3 separate regions of the Homo sapiens genome follow, and all the other regions are linked to region 2. Evidence: promoter capture Hi-C in human tissues and cell types (Jung and others, 2019). All regions are on one chromosome and are shown on one strand. Each heading gives the region's core, a stretch centred on a gene start or on the middle of the fragment in contact. The rest is flanking DNA. Distances are from core to core; before and after follow the strand shown.

Evidence for each region. Contacts are between HindIII fragments. The study calls those that stand out against the background at their distance.
Region 1: a contact is called between a fragment that was not itself captured here and the fragment with the promoter of EN2 in region 2, in 1 of the 25 tissues and cell types used here (thymus).
Region 3: a contact is called between a fragment that was not itself captured here and the fragment with the promoter of EN2 in region 2, in 1 of the 25 tissues and cell types used here (spleen).

The regions. Positions count from the first base shown.
Region 1 is chr7:155,189,387-155,192,428 of GRCh38, forward strand. No RefSeq gene overlaps it. Among named protein-coding and RNA genes, the nearest start is that of INSIG1, 110 kb to the right of the region's middle. The HindIII fragment of the contact is 6,182 bases long and covers 1-3,042 here.
Region 2 is chr7:155,456,781-155,459,991 of GRCh38, forward strand. EN2 (engrailed homeobox 2) reads left to right here and starts at 1,349. Exons shown (of 2, transcript NM_001427.4): 1 at 1,349-2,282. The coding sequence starts at 1,598. It overlaps EN2-DT (EN2 divergent transcript), which reads right to left and starts at 338. Exons shown (of 3, transcript NR_186580.1): 1 at 210-338. RefSeq lists an enhancer at 11-1,002. The HindIII fragment of the contact is 19,554 bases long and covers 1-3,211 here.
Region 3 is chr7:155,013,298-155,016,230 of GRCh38, forward strand. No RefSeq gene overlaps it. Among named protein-coding and RNA genes, the nearest start is that of PAXIP1-DT, 11 kb to the left of the region's middle. The HindIII fragment of the contact is 4,543 bases long and covers 1-2,933 here.

The sequences.
Region 1 (3,042 bases), core at 485-2,984, 270 kb before region 2:
CATTGCAAGGCCAGTAAGTATCACCAGTTTGTAAGCAGCTTACTATTTCTGTATCATCTCGTATTTCAGGCATGAGAGCGGAGGCGCCTCTGCCTGGTGAGCTGAACAAAAGTGGATCCACTTCTATCTGGACAAAGGCCCACTGCCAGCTTCACCTTCAGATTTTACACATCCTCTTCCTCAACTTTAGAGTGACAACAAATGTAGTTCACACATATGAACCAGTGAGTGAACGTGTGCAATGAAAATGCGCTTACATTTAAAAATCAAATTGCAGCAGGCCTTTCTGAGCTGGGCAGACCCTGTGCTGGGTCTACGACAGCACATCCCCCTCAGACGTGGCCCGCACGCCGCACATAGCCCAGCGAGGGGCGTTCTGCAGAAACGTCAGCGAGCTCATGGCTAACGTGCTCAGAATAGACACTGCCAGCTAACTTCCAGTCACCTGGCTATGACACACTCAAGCCTGTGAGAGTGAACCGGGTTTGTAAAAACCAGGACTAGTCAAAGCCCATTATTAAGTTTTACACTTTGCTCCCTGGCCTAAGGGAGTAGAAATCCAAGCTTGAAGGGAAAGGAGGGGTCTGATTTGGTGAACAGAGATATGAGGCTGAGGCTTCTGAGCACGTGGGTTTGGGGTAGGGGTAGGGGCGTGGGGGTACTGAAGATCAAGAAGAGGCTGAGGACACTCAAGGGAGAAACCCGGGCTCTAGAGCCAGCCCCCGTGGGACAGGCCCTGGCTCTGTGTGATCTTGGGCAAGTCTTAGCCTTTCTGTGCCTCAGTTGCTTACTGTAGAATGCGGTAACTACTGCTGTTATGGGCAGGGTTATGTCCCCCCAAATTTATAGTTGAAGCTCTAACCCCCCAGTGTCACTATACCTGGAGATGGGGACTCTAAGGAGGTGATTAAGGTTAAATGAGGTCAGAAGGGTGGGACCCTAACCCAATAAGACTGTGGCCCTAGAAGAAGATGAGAAGCTCTCTCTGTCTGTCTCTCTGTTTCTCTCTCTGTCTCTCTTTCTCTCTCTGTGATATAAAGGTGGCCATTGGAAAACCAGGAAGAGAGGCCTCAGGAGAAACTAACCCTGTTGATCTTGGATTTGGACTTGGACTTGATCTCAGACTTCCAGGGTCCAGAACTGTGAAGAAATAAATGATTGTTAAAGCCACCTCGTCTGTGACAATCACCCCCCCCCCCCCCCGCAGCGATTTGGTGAACTGGAACTGAACATACACAACACCCCTTCTTCTTCCAACTCTCCTTCTCTGTGCATTCTTTCACTCCCACCCGACTCCCACCCCCAAATCTTCATAGAAACATCTGGAGAATGTGCTCAAATCTCAAACCCCGGGGCGGGACCCTGCACTACCAAGCGCGGCCACTGAGCGGCACTCACACCCGGCGGCGCGCGCTGGTTCTCCCGCTCCGGCCGCGGGACTGGTGCGCACCTGGGACGCGGCCAGAGAGGCTGAACCCCTAACGTTTTATTCTGATGAATTTAGATTGAAAGATGGAAGCTATGTACGTTATTTTTCCTTTAAATGGACCTTCATGGTTCCACTAGGGCGACATGTTGCTGCAATGGCTAATCATTCAGCCTCCGAAGGAGACGTGCGGCGACTGAAACGCACGCCAGATTTTGAAGACCGTAGGAAAAAAAAAAAAGCGAGCCAGTCATTGAGACTTTTTAAATTGATTACATGTGGAAATGCTAATGTTCCAGCGGGACTGGATTAAACAGGACATTATTAACATGCATTCCACCTGTTTCTGGTTACTTTTTAAATTTGGCTAAATGGGCATTTTACATTACAGGTGTGTGGGGGTGGGGGCTGACCTGTGGCCTCGGCTTCTGGCCCTGGGCCTTCCCTTCCTCCCACTTGCCACGGGGGCCGGGTCCGGGAGCAGAGCTCTGCAGTTAGGGCTGCTGAGAGGCGCAGGTGCAGAGGACGGGTGGGTGCCCAGGCCCAGGGCACAGGGTCAGGGGTCGGAAACCTGCCAGTCTTTAAAACTACATTTCACAGAGGATCCATCCCGGCCGTCTATACATAGGGTGGGTCCTCCGTCAATCCATCCAGCACCCACTGAGTTCACCCCATCTATCCTATGTATAAGAAAATCGCGGACCGATCACGGGGGCTCATGTCTGTAATCCCAGCACTTTGGGAGGCTAAGGCAGGTGGATCACCTGAGGTCTGAAGTTCCAGACCAGCCTGGACAACATGGTGATACCCCGTCTGTACTAAAAACACCAAACTTAGCCCTGCGTGATGGTGCATGCCTGTAATCCCAGCTATTCAGGAGGCTGAGGCAGGAAAATCACTTGAACCCAGGAGACAGAGGTTGCAGTGAGCAGAGATCACGCCACCGCACTCCAGCCTGGGTGACAGAGCGAGACTCCATCTCAGAAAAAAAAAAAAGTGAAAAAGAAAAAAAAGAAAATCACCCAGTGCTTGGCAGTCACCATACAGCCAAGACCCACCCATCATTCAAGTCCACCCCAGGCTGGCTTCATTATTTTTGGGGAGGACTGGACCTTCATTTGACTTGCTATTTACCATTGATTAGGGCCTAGACTTTGTGAAGTTACATGTTAATTTGTAGATATTTTGTCAGTAGAGATGCAAATGATTTCAGTCTGGTGGAGAATGAAATCACTGAAACTACTGGCCCCCAAGGCCGTGGTTTTAGTTTGCGGTAGGATATTGATCACTTTGGCCTCTAACTTAGCAGACTTCCTTTACAGGGGCTGTGTTGGCTGATGAAACAAAACTCTGTCAGCCACTCTTTGAACCAGTTGTACAATTTTGCCCTTTCCCAGTCTGGGCTAAGCAAATCTCTGATGTGTTCATTCCAGATTTGTATGAGAGTCTTATATTTAACTGTTAAGTTTATAAGGTTTACTCAAGTAGTTAACTGAATCAGGAGAGAAATTTGAGATGAGGTTGAGGTTAACCCCTGGGGAAATGATGTCCACAGCATCACAGGGAATGGTTACCCTAAGCCGGGGCATGCACGTGGGGAGGGAGGAAAACTGGAA
Region 2 (3,211 bases), core at 99-2,598:
GCTGAACAGTCACCCCTCCTCTCCTTGGCAAAAAGGATTCCTTTAGAACCTCCGAGGCTCCTGGATTTCTCCCTTCGCAAATGGAGCCGCATACTGCATTCCCCCGCTCTTTCGGATCGCTAAGCATGTTTCATGAGGGTCGCTGTCCCCGGGTGGAATGCGGCCGTATGCACGCGCCTCCCTGCACACGCACACACACGCACACTTACAATAAGTGTCTGCAGGAGGAGTGTCCTGCGCGCCAGCTCTGCGTTTAAGACAGGAAGCTGCCGGGTTACCGAGTCAAATGGGAGTGACACTATTCCTCTCCATCAGCAAGGAAAGCGGACCACAAAAGTCCCTTTGTATCTCGGCAGCTCATTTAATATTATTTATGCATTTTGTGCAAGGAATTGTGGGATTTCGCCCCACGGTAAACAATATGGAAATCTTAAAAATAGCGATCTTCCTGTGCGTGTCCACCTACGCGCCCCGGGGTGACCTGGCGGGGCTGTCGCCGGGTGACTCACACCCCTGAACCGCGAAGCGACAGGGAAAGCGCGGGCGAGCGCAGGAGACGCGGTCGGGGGTCTCTCCGGGTTCCTGGGCTCCCGCACCCGGAGCGGGGGACGCGGCCGCTTTAAGGGGAGGAGGGGCGGCGGGCTGCTCCTGTCACCCAGCGGCGGCCGGAGCGTCACGTGGGCGCGCGGCGCCGCGGCCATTGGCCCGAGGCACGTGTCCAGGAGACCGGCCTGCGACGTCACTCGAGGGGGCTCTGTTAAAAATAAGAACAAAAATCCAGAGTGAAAGTGTCTCAGGTTGCGCCGAGTGGCCTGGAAATTTCCGAGCCCGCGCGGAGGCCGAGGCGGCGAGGGCGGCGGACGGCCGGGGAGCGCGGGCGGCCCAGCCCGGCCCGGCCGGGCCCTGGCCTCGCGTCTCTCACCCATGCGACTCGGGCCGCGGAGCTCTGCGGGGCTCGGCGGGGGCGCGGCCGCACGCCGGTGGGGCGCCCCGGCCCGCAGCGGGGCGGCGGCCGCGAGGAGGGGGCCTCCATGTGCGTGCGGGCGGTGGCGGGCGCGCTGACCGCGGGCGCCCGGCACCCTCGAGGGCCGGCTAGGGCGTGCGGGCGGGGACGGCCGGGCGGCGGCGGCGGCCGGAGCCGGCCCGGGCGGGCGTGAGCGCCGGGGAACGCGCTGCCTGCATGCGCGCAGCTCTCGCCCCGGGCGGCCCAGGCGGCGGCGCCGGAGCCCGAGGCGGCCGGACGCGGAGAGGAGCGGGGAGCCCGGGAGGCGGCCCGCGTCCCCGCCGGACCACTGCGACTGTCTAGACCCCGGCTGCGCGGCGAAGTCGAGGACTTGGCTCTGTTGAATCTCTCATCGTCTGGGCGAGCGGGGCGGCTCGTGGTGTTTCTAACCCAGTTCGTGGATTCAAAGGTGGCTCCGCGCCGAGCGCGGCCGGCGACTTGTAGGACCTCAGCCCTGGCCGCGGCCGCCGCGCACGCCCTCGGAAGACTCGGCGGGGTGGGGGCGCGGGGGTCTCCGTGTGCGCCGCGGGAGGGCCGAAGGCTGATTTGGAAGGGCGTCCCCGGAGAACCAGTGTGGGATTTACTGTGAACAGCATGGAGGAGAATGACCCCAAGCCTGGCGAAGCAGCGGCGGCGGTGGAGGGACAGCGGCAGCCGGAATCCAGCCCCGGCGGCGGCTCGGGCGGCGGCGGCGGTAGCAGCCCGGGCGAAGCGGACACCGGGCGCCGGCGGGCTCTGATGCTGCCCGCGGTCCTGCAGGCGCCCGGCAACCACCAGCACCCGCACCGCATCACCAACTTCTTCATCGACAACATCCTGCGGCCCGAGTTCGGCCGGCGAAAGGACGCGGGGACCTGCTGTGCGGGCGCGGGAGGAGGAAGGGGCGGCGGAGCCGGCGGCGAAGGCGGCGCGAGCGGTGCGGAGGGAGGCGGCGGCGCGGGCGGCTCGGAGCAGCTCTTGGGCTCGGGCTCCCGAGAGCCCCGGCAGAACCCGCCATGTGCGCCCGGCGCGGGCGGGCCGCTCCCAGCCGCCGGCAGCGACTCTCCGGGTGACGGGGAAGGCGGCTCCAAGACGCTCTCGCTGCACGGTGGCGCCAAGAAAGGCGGCGACCCCGGCGGCCCCCTGGACGGGTCGCTCAAGGCCCGCGGCTTGGGCGGCGGCGACCTGTCGGTGAGCTCGGACTCGGACAGCTCGCAAGCCGGCGCCAACCTGGGCGCGCAGCCCATGCTCTGGCCGGCGTGGGTCTACTGTACGCGCTACTCGGACCGGCCTTCTTCAGGTGAGCCCGCGGGGACCACGCGTCCCGGCTCGCCGCGGGGAGGCCCGCGGAGCTGGGGGGCGGTGCTGGCGCGGGAACTTACCGGGAGGAAAACATCTCGAACCTCCCCCGCGCACACGCACAAAGACTCACGCGACATTGTGTGAAGCTGACGCCGGCCCGGGCAGCGGCCAGGAGTCCAGCGGCAGGACTGATTCGCTAGGGGGTACAGACTTCTTAGGACCGCAGAAGGGACCTTCTTTCTTTCTCTGTCTCTCTCTCTCCTTCCTCTCTCCCTGTCTCCCCTCTCTGTCTTCCACCCCGCCTTGGCGCATCTCTTCCCAGCCCCTAGCCCATGTCTCCCCCACTGTAGTTTTTTTTGGTGGGAACGTGGTGGCTGGAAGATGGGCCCGGAAGTGCACACTCTCATCCCCTTCCCTACGATCTTCCAACTCAGGCCAGGCCGGGGACGCATGCCCCAGCCCACCCCAGACTTGTCCTACCATCCGGTTATCCCGGCTGTGCTCGGGGAAGAAAAGGCGAGGCCCTTTGCCGCTCTGCCTTCTGCCCCTCGGGCCTGCGCTGACCGGTGGGACTCAGGAGGATGCACACAGGGAAGGAGGAAAATAAAGGCGCCCTTTCCCCTTGGCTCCACTTTGTTTGCCAGCGCCAGCCCGCAGTGGTGGGGCTCAGCCCCCTTCCTGCACACAGCGAGGACAAGGGAGGCAGCCGTCCCTCCCGGCACCTGCCATCCCCAAATAGAAAGGACCTTCTCTCAGGGTTTCCTGGGGGCTGCTGATGGGAAAGAGGCAGCATTCGCAGGGGCCCTGCAGAGATGCTGGATATATTTTTTCATAGATCTGCGATTTTAAAAAACTAAGTCCATGTCCTTGTAGAAATCATCAACTGCATTCCATGCGGGTCTGCGGCTGGGAACCGCCATTAGAAGT
Region 3 (2,933 bases), core at 348-2,847, 440 kb before region 2:
AGCCTGAGAACAATGTAAAAAAATACTCCTGGCAGGATACCTGCTTAGATATTTTCAAGCTTAGAAAAATCATTTTTTCACACCTGTAATCCTAGCACTTTGGGAGGCCAAGGCAGGTGGATAGTTTGAGGTCAGGAGTTCGAGACCAGCCTGGCCAACGTGGTGAAAACCTGTCTCTACTAAAAATACAAAAATTAGCCAGTTGTGGTGGTGAGTGCCTGTAATCCCAGCTACTTGGGAGGCTGAGGCACGATAATCACTTAAACCCAAGAGGTGGAGGTTGCAGTGAACCGAGAGCATACTACTGCACTTCTAGCCTAGGCAACAGAGTGACTCTGTCTTAATAAGAAAAAAAAAGAAAGAAAGAAAAGAAAAATTATTTTTAATGGCACCAAGCAACCCAACCTTTTTCTTTATTTGGTTGTTGTTCTGAGACATTTCCCAGAGGTTAGGAATTTATATCCAAAAATAATGTTGACAGGCATGACAGTTTGGGGTTGAAGAGAGAATTGGGCTTGTTTGCAAAATCTCTTTAATTTATCTCAGACATTTCACCAGCTAATTAATGAAGATCCCAAGCCAAGATCTAGTTCTGTATCATAACACCCTGAAAAGATTTTAACAGCTTCTCTAACTCTAACTGCCTCGTCTGTTGCTCCTGTTTAACACTGTGTCCGTCTCCAAGATGACGGGAGTCAATCTCACTTCTTTCAGAGACTACACTAAGGTTGAGAAAGGTGAGGCCCAAGGAATTCAAGTGAGTTTCTCATTGTCACAGTTACTGGCAGAGTCTGGGTTACGCTCTCCTTTTTAGACTTATTCTAATTCATTCTTTAAAAACATTGAAAGGAAAGAGTTTTAATTTCATATACAATAGAAATAGAAAAGAGGAAAACTCTCTAAAAGTAATATTTATACTACGGAAAAATCTAACTTTATTTTGGTTGAAAAGAGTATACAGATTTATATTTTTTGTAGCTAATACATATTTCTCTTTTGGAAGTGGTTGAAGTGGAAGAGACAATTTTATGTTTAATGTCTCGCGTCAGTTTTAATTTTCTGATTTAATTAGTTTCCTAATTAGAAGGGGTTAAATTAATTAACCTCATTATTTACTATATATTTAATGATTTCTCATCTATGGGGAGTTACTTAATTTTCAATAATTGGAAAGCTTATGACAAGAGGGGATATTGCCAAGTCTTACACTTATTGTTTTATGATCAGTGGCAGGAATAAGACAGATTAAGGGGAATTTTAGGTGAGATATCAGATACTTGCAAAGGTATTTCTTACTTGTTTTGAACCATGATGCATGTAAAAACTTGAGTTGAGACTCCATAATTTCTGTCCAATTTGAACTCAATGGATATGTCCTTTGTTTAAGGATAAAATACATCCTAGAACATAGACTTCTATAAGAAATAGCCCTGTCACATGATCTCAGTTATAGACAATAAAATAATCATGATGCATCAAATAATACTAAATAATTATAATGAAAAGGAGAGCTTCTGAAACTATCATCTGGTATAAATGGCATAATAAAATATTTAGTTTTTCCTCAGACTTGCCGGTGGACTAAATGGATGACATTTTGGGAAGAAATAACAGATTGATAAGCCTAGCAGCTATATGGCTTGAGGAAATCAATAAGCCATGTTATTTCATGTTTATAAATACAAACAATTTGTGGATAACTATGTTTTCATGTAGTGATGTGTTTTCCGAGAGCAAAAATGAGGCTGCATCTACAAAATGGCTGAATTTGCCTTCTCTTCCCACTTTAGAAGGGCCTCTGCACGGAGATTTGAGCAGCCAGAACTCTGCAGGCAGACACGGACAGAGAGAGGACACTGTTGCCCATTTCTCCCTGTCTCTGCATTGCTCCTTATCCACAGCACCACTACCTGGGAGAGACCCTGATCCATCAAGAGGTTATGTGAGTAAAGCTTGGGTACTGGTATGGTTTAAAACACAAGCCCAACGCATGTAGTCCAGTGAAGTGGTCTGATGATAGGAAATCCACTGTAGTTGAACAAACCTGTACTGAGCACGTAGGTGCATTGCATATAGGCTTTGTGTTGCAGTCAAGGCCCGTCCATGGAGTGACTGAGTTCCAGCCTGTAAGCAGCATATCAAATGCCAACGTGAGTTGCATAGAGTAATGGAATACAAAGTGTGAGATGCGACGGAGACAGGGATGTTTTGGGAGGTTGTCTTAGAGGAGGGGTCTTGAGAGACCTTCGAAGATCAACAGGAAGAGAAGGATGCCTGTTCCCTGTGGAAGAGAAGCCTGAGCAGAGGCCTGGGCTTGGGAATGAGCATGGTGGGCTGGCAGGACTAGCAGTCAGCTCCTGCCTGGAGGAAGATGTTGCGGGATGGAGCGCGGGAGACATGTACAAAGAAGCAGATTGGAGACCTTCGGGGAAAAGCTTTATATGAAGAAATGACTGTCCATATTTCTCATAAATTAGAATCCTACTATTTTCAATTCCTATCAAAAAAATTTACAGGCTGAAGTTGAGACAGTAAAAACTGGTATTCCATTTGATTCCATTTGGAAAATATCTGCCCTTATTCTGTTTATTTTATTTTATTTTTATTTTATTTTTTGTTTTATTGAGACAAGGTCTCACCCTGTCACTCAGGGTGGAGTGCAGTGCTGCAATCTTGGCTCACTGCAACCTCCGCCTCCCGGGTTCAAGCAATTCTCCTGCCTCAGTCTCCCACGTAGCTGAGAGTACAGACACGTGCCACCACGCCTGGCTAATTTTTGTATTTTTAGTAGAGACGGGGTCTCATCATGTTGGCCAGGCTGGTCTCAAACTCCTGACCTCAAGCGATCTGCCGGCCTCGGCCTCCCAAAGTGCTGGGATTACAGGCGTGAGCCACCGTGCCTGGCCTGCCCCTATTCAGTGTATAATAGCAGG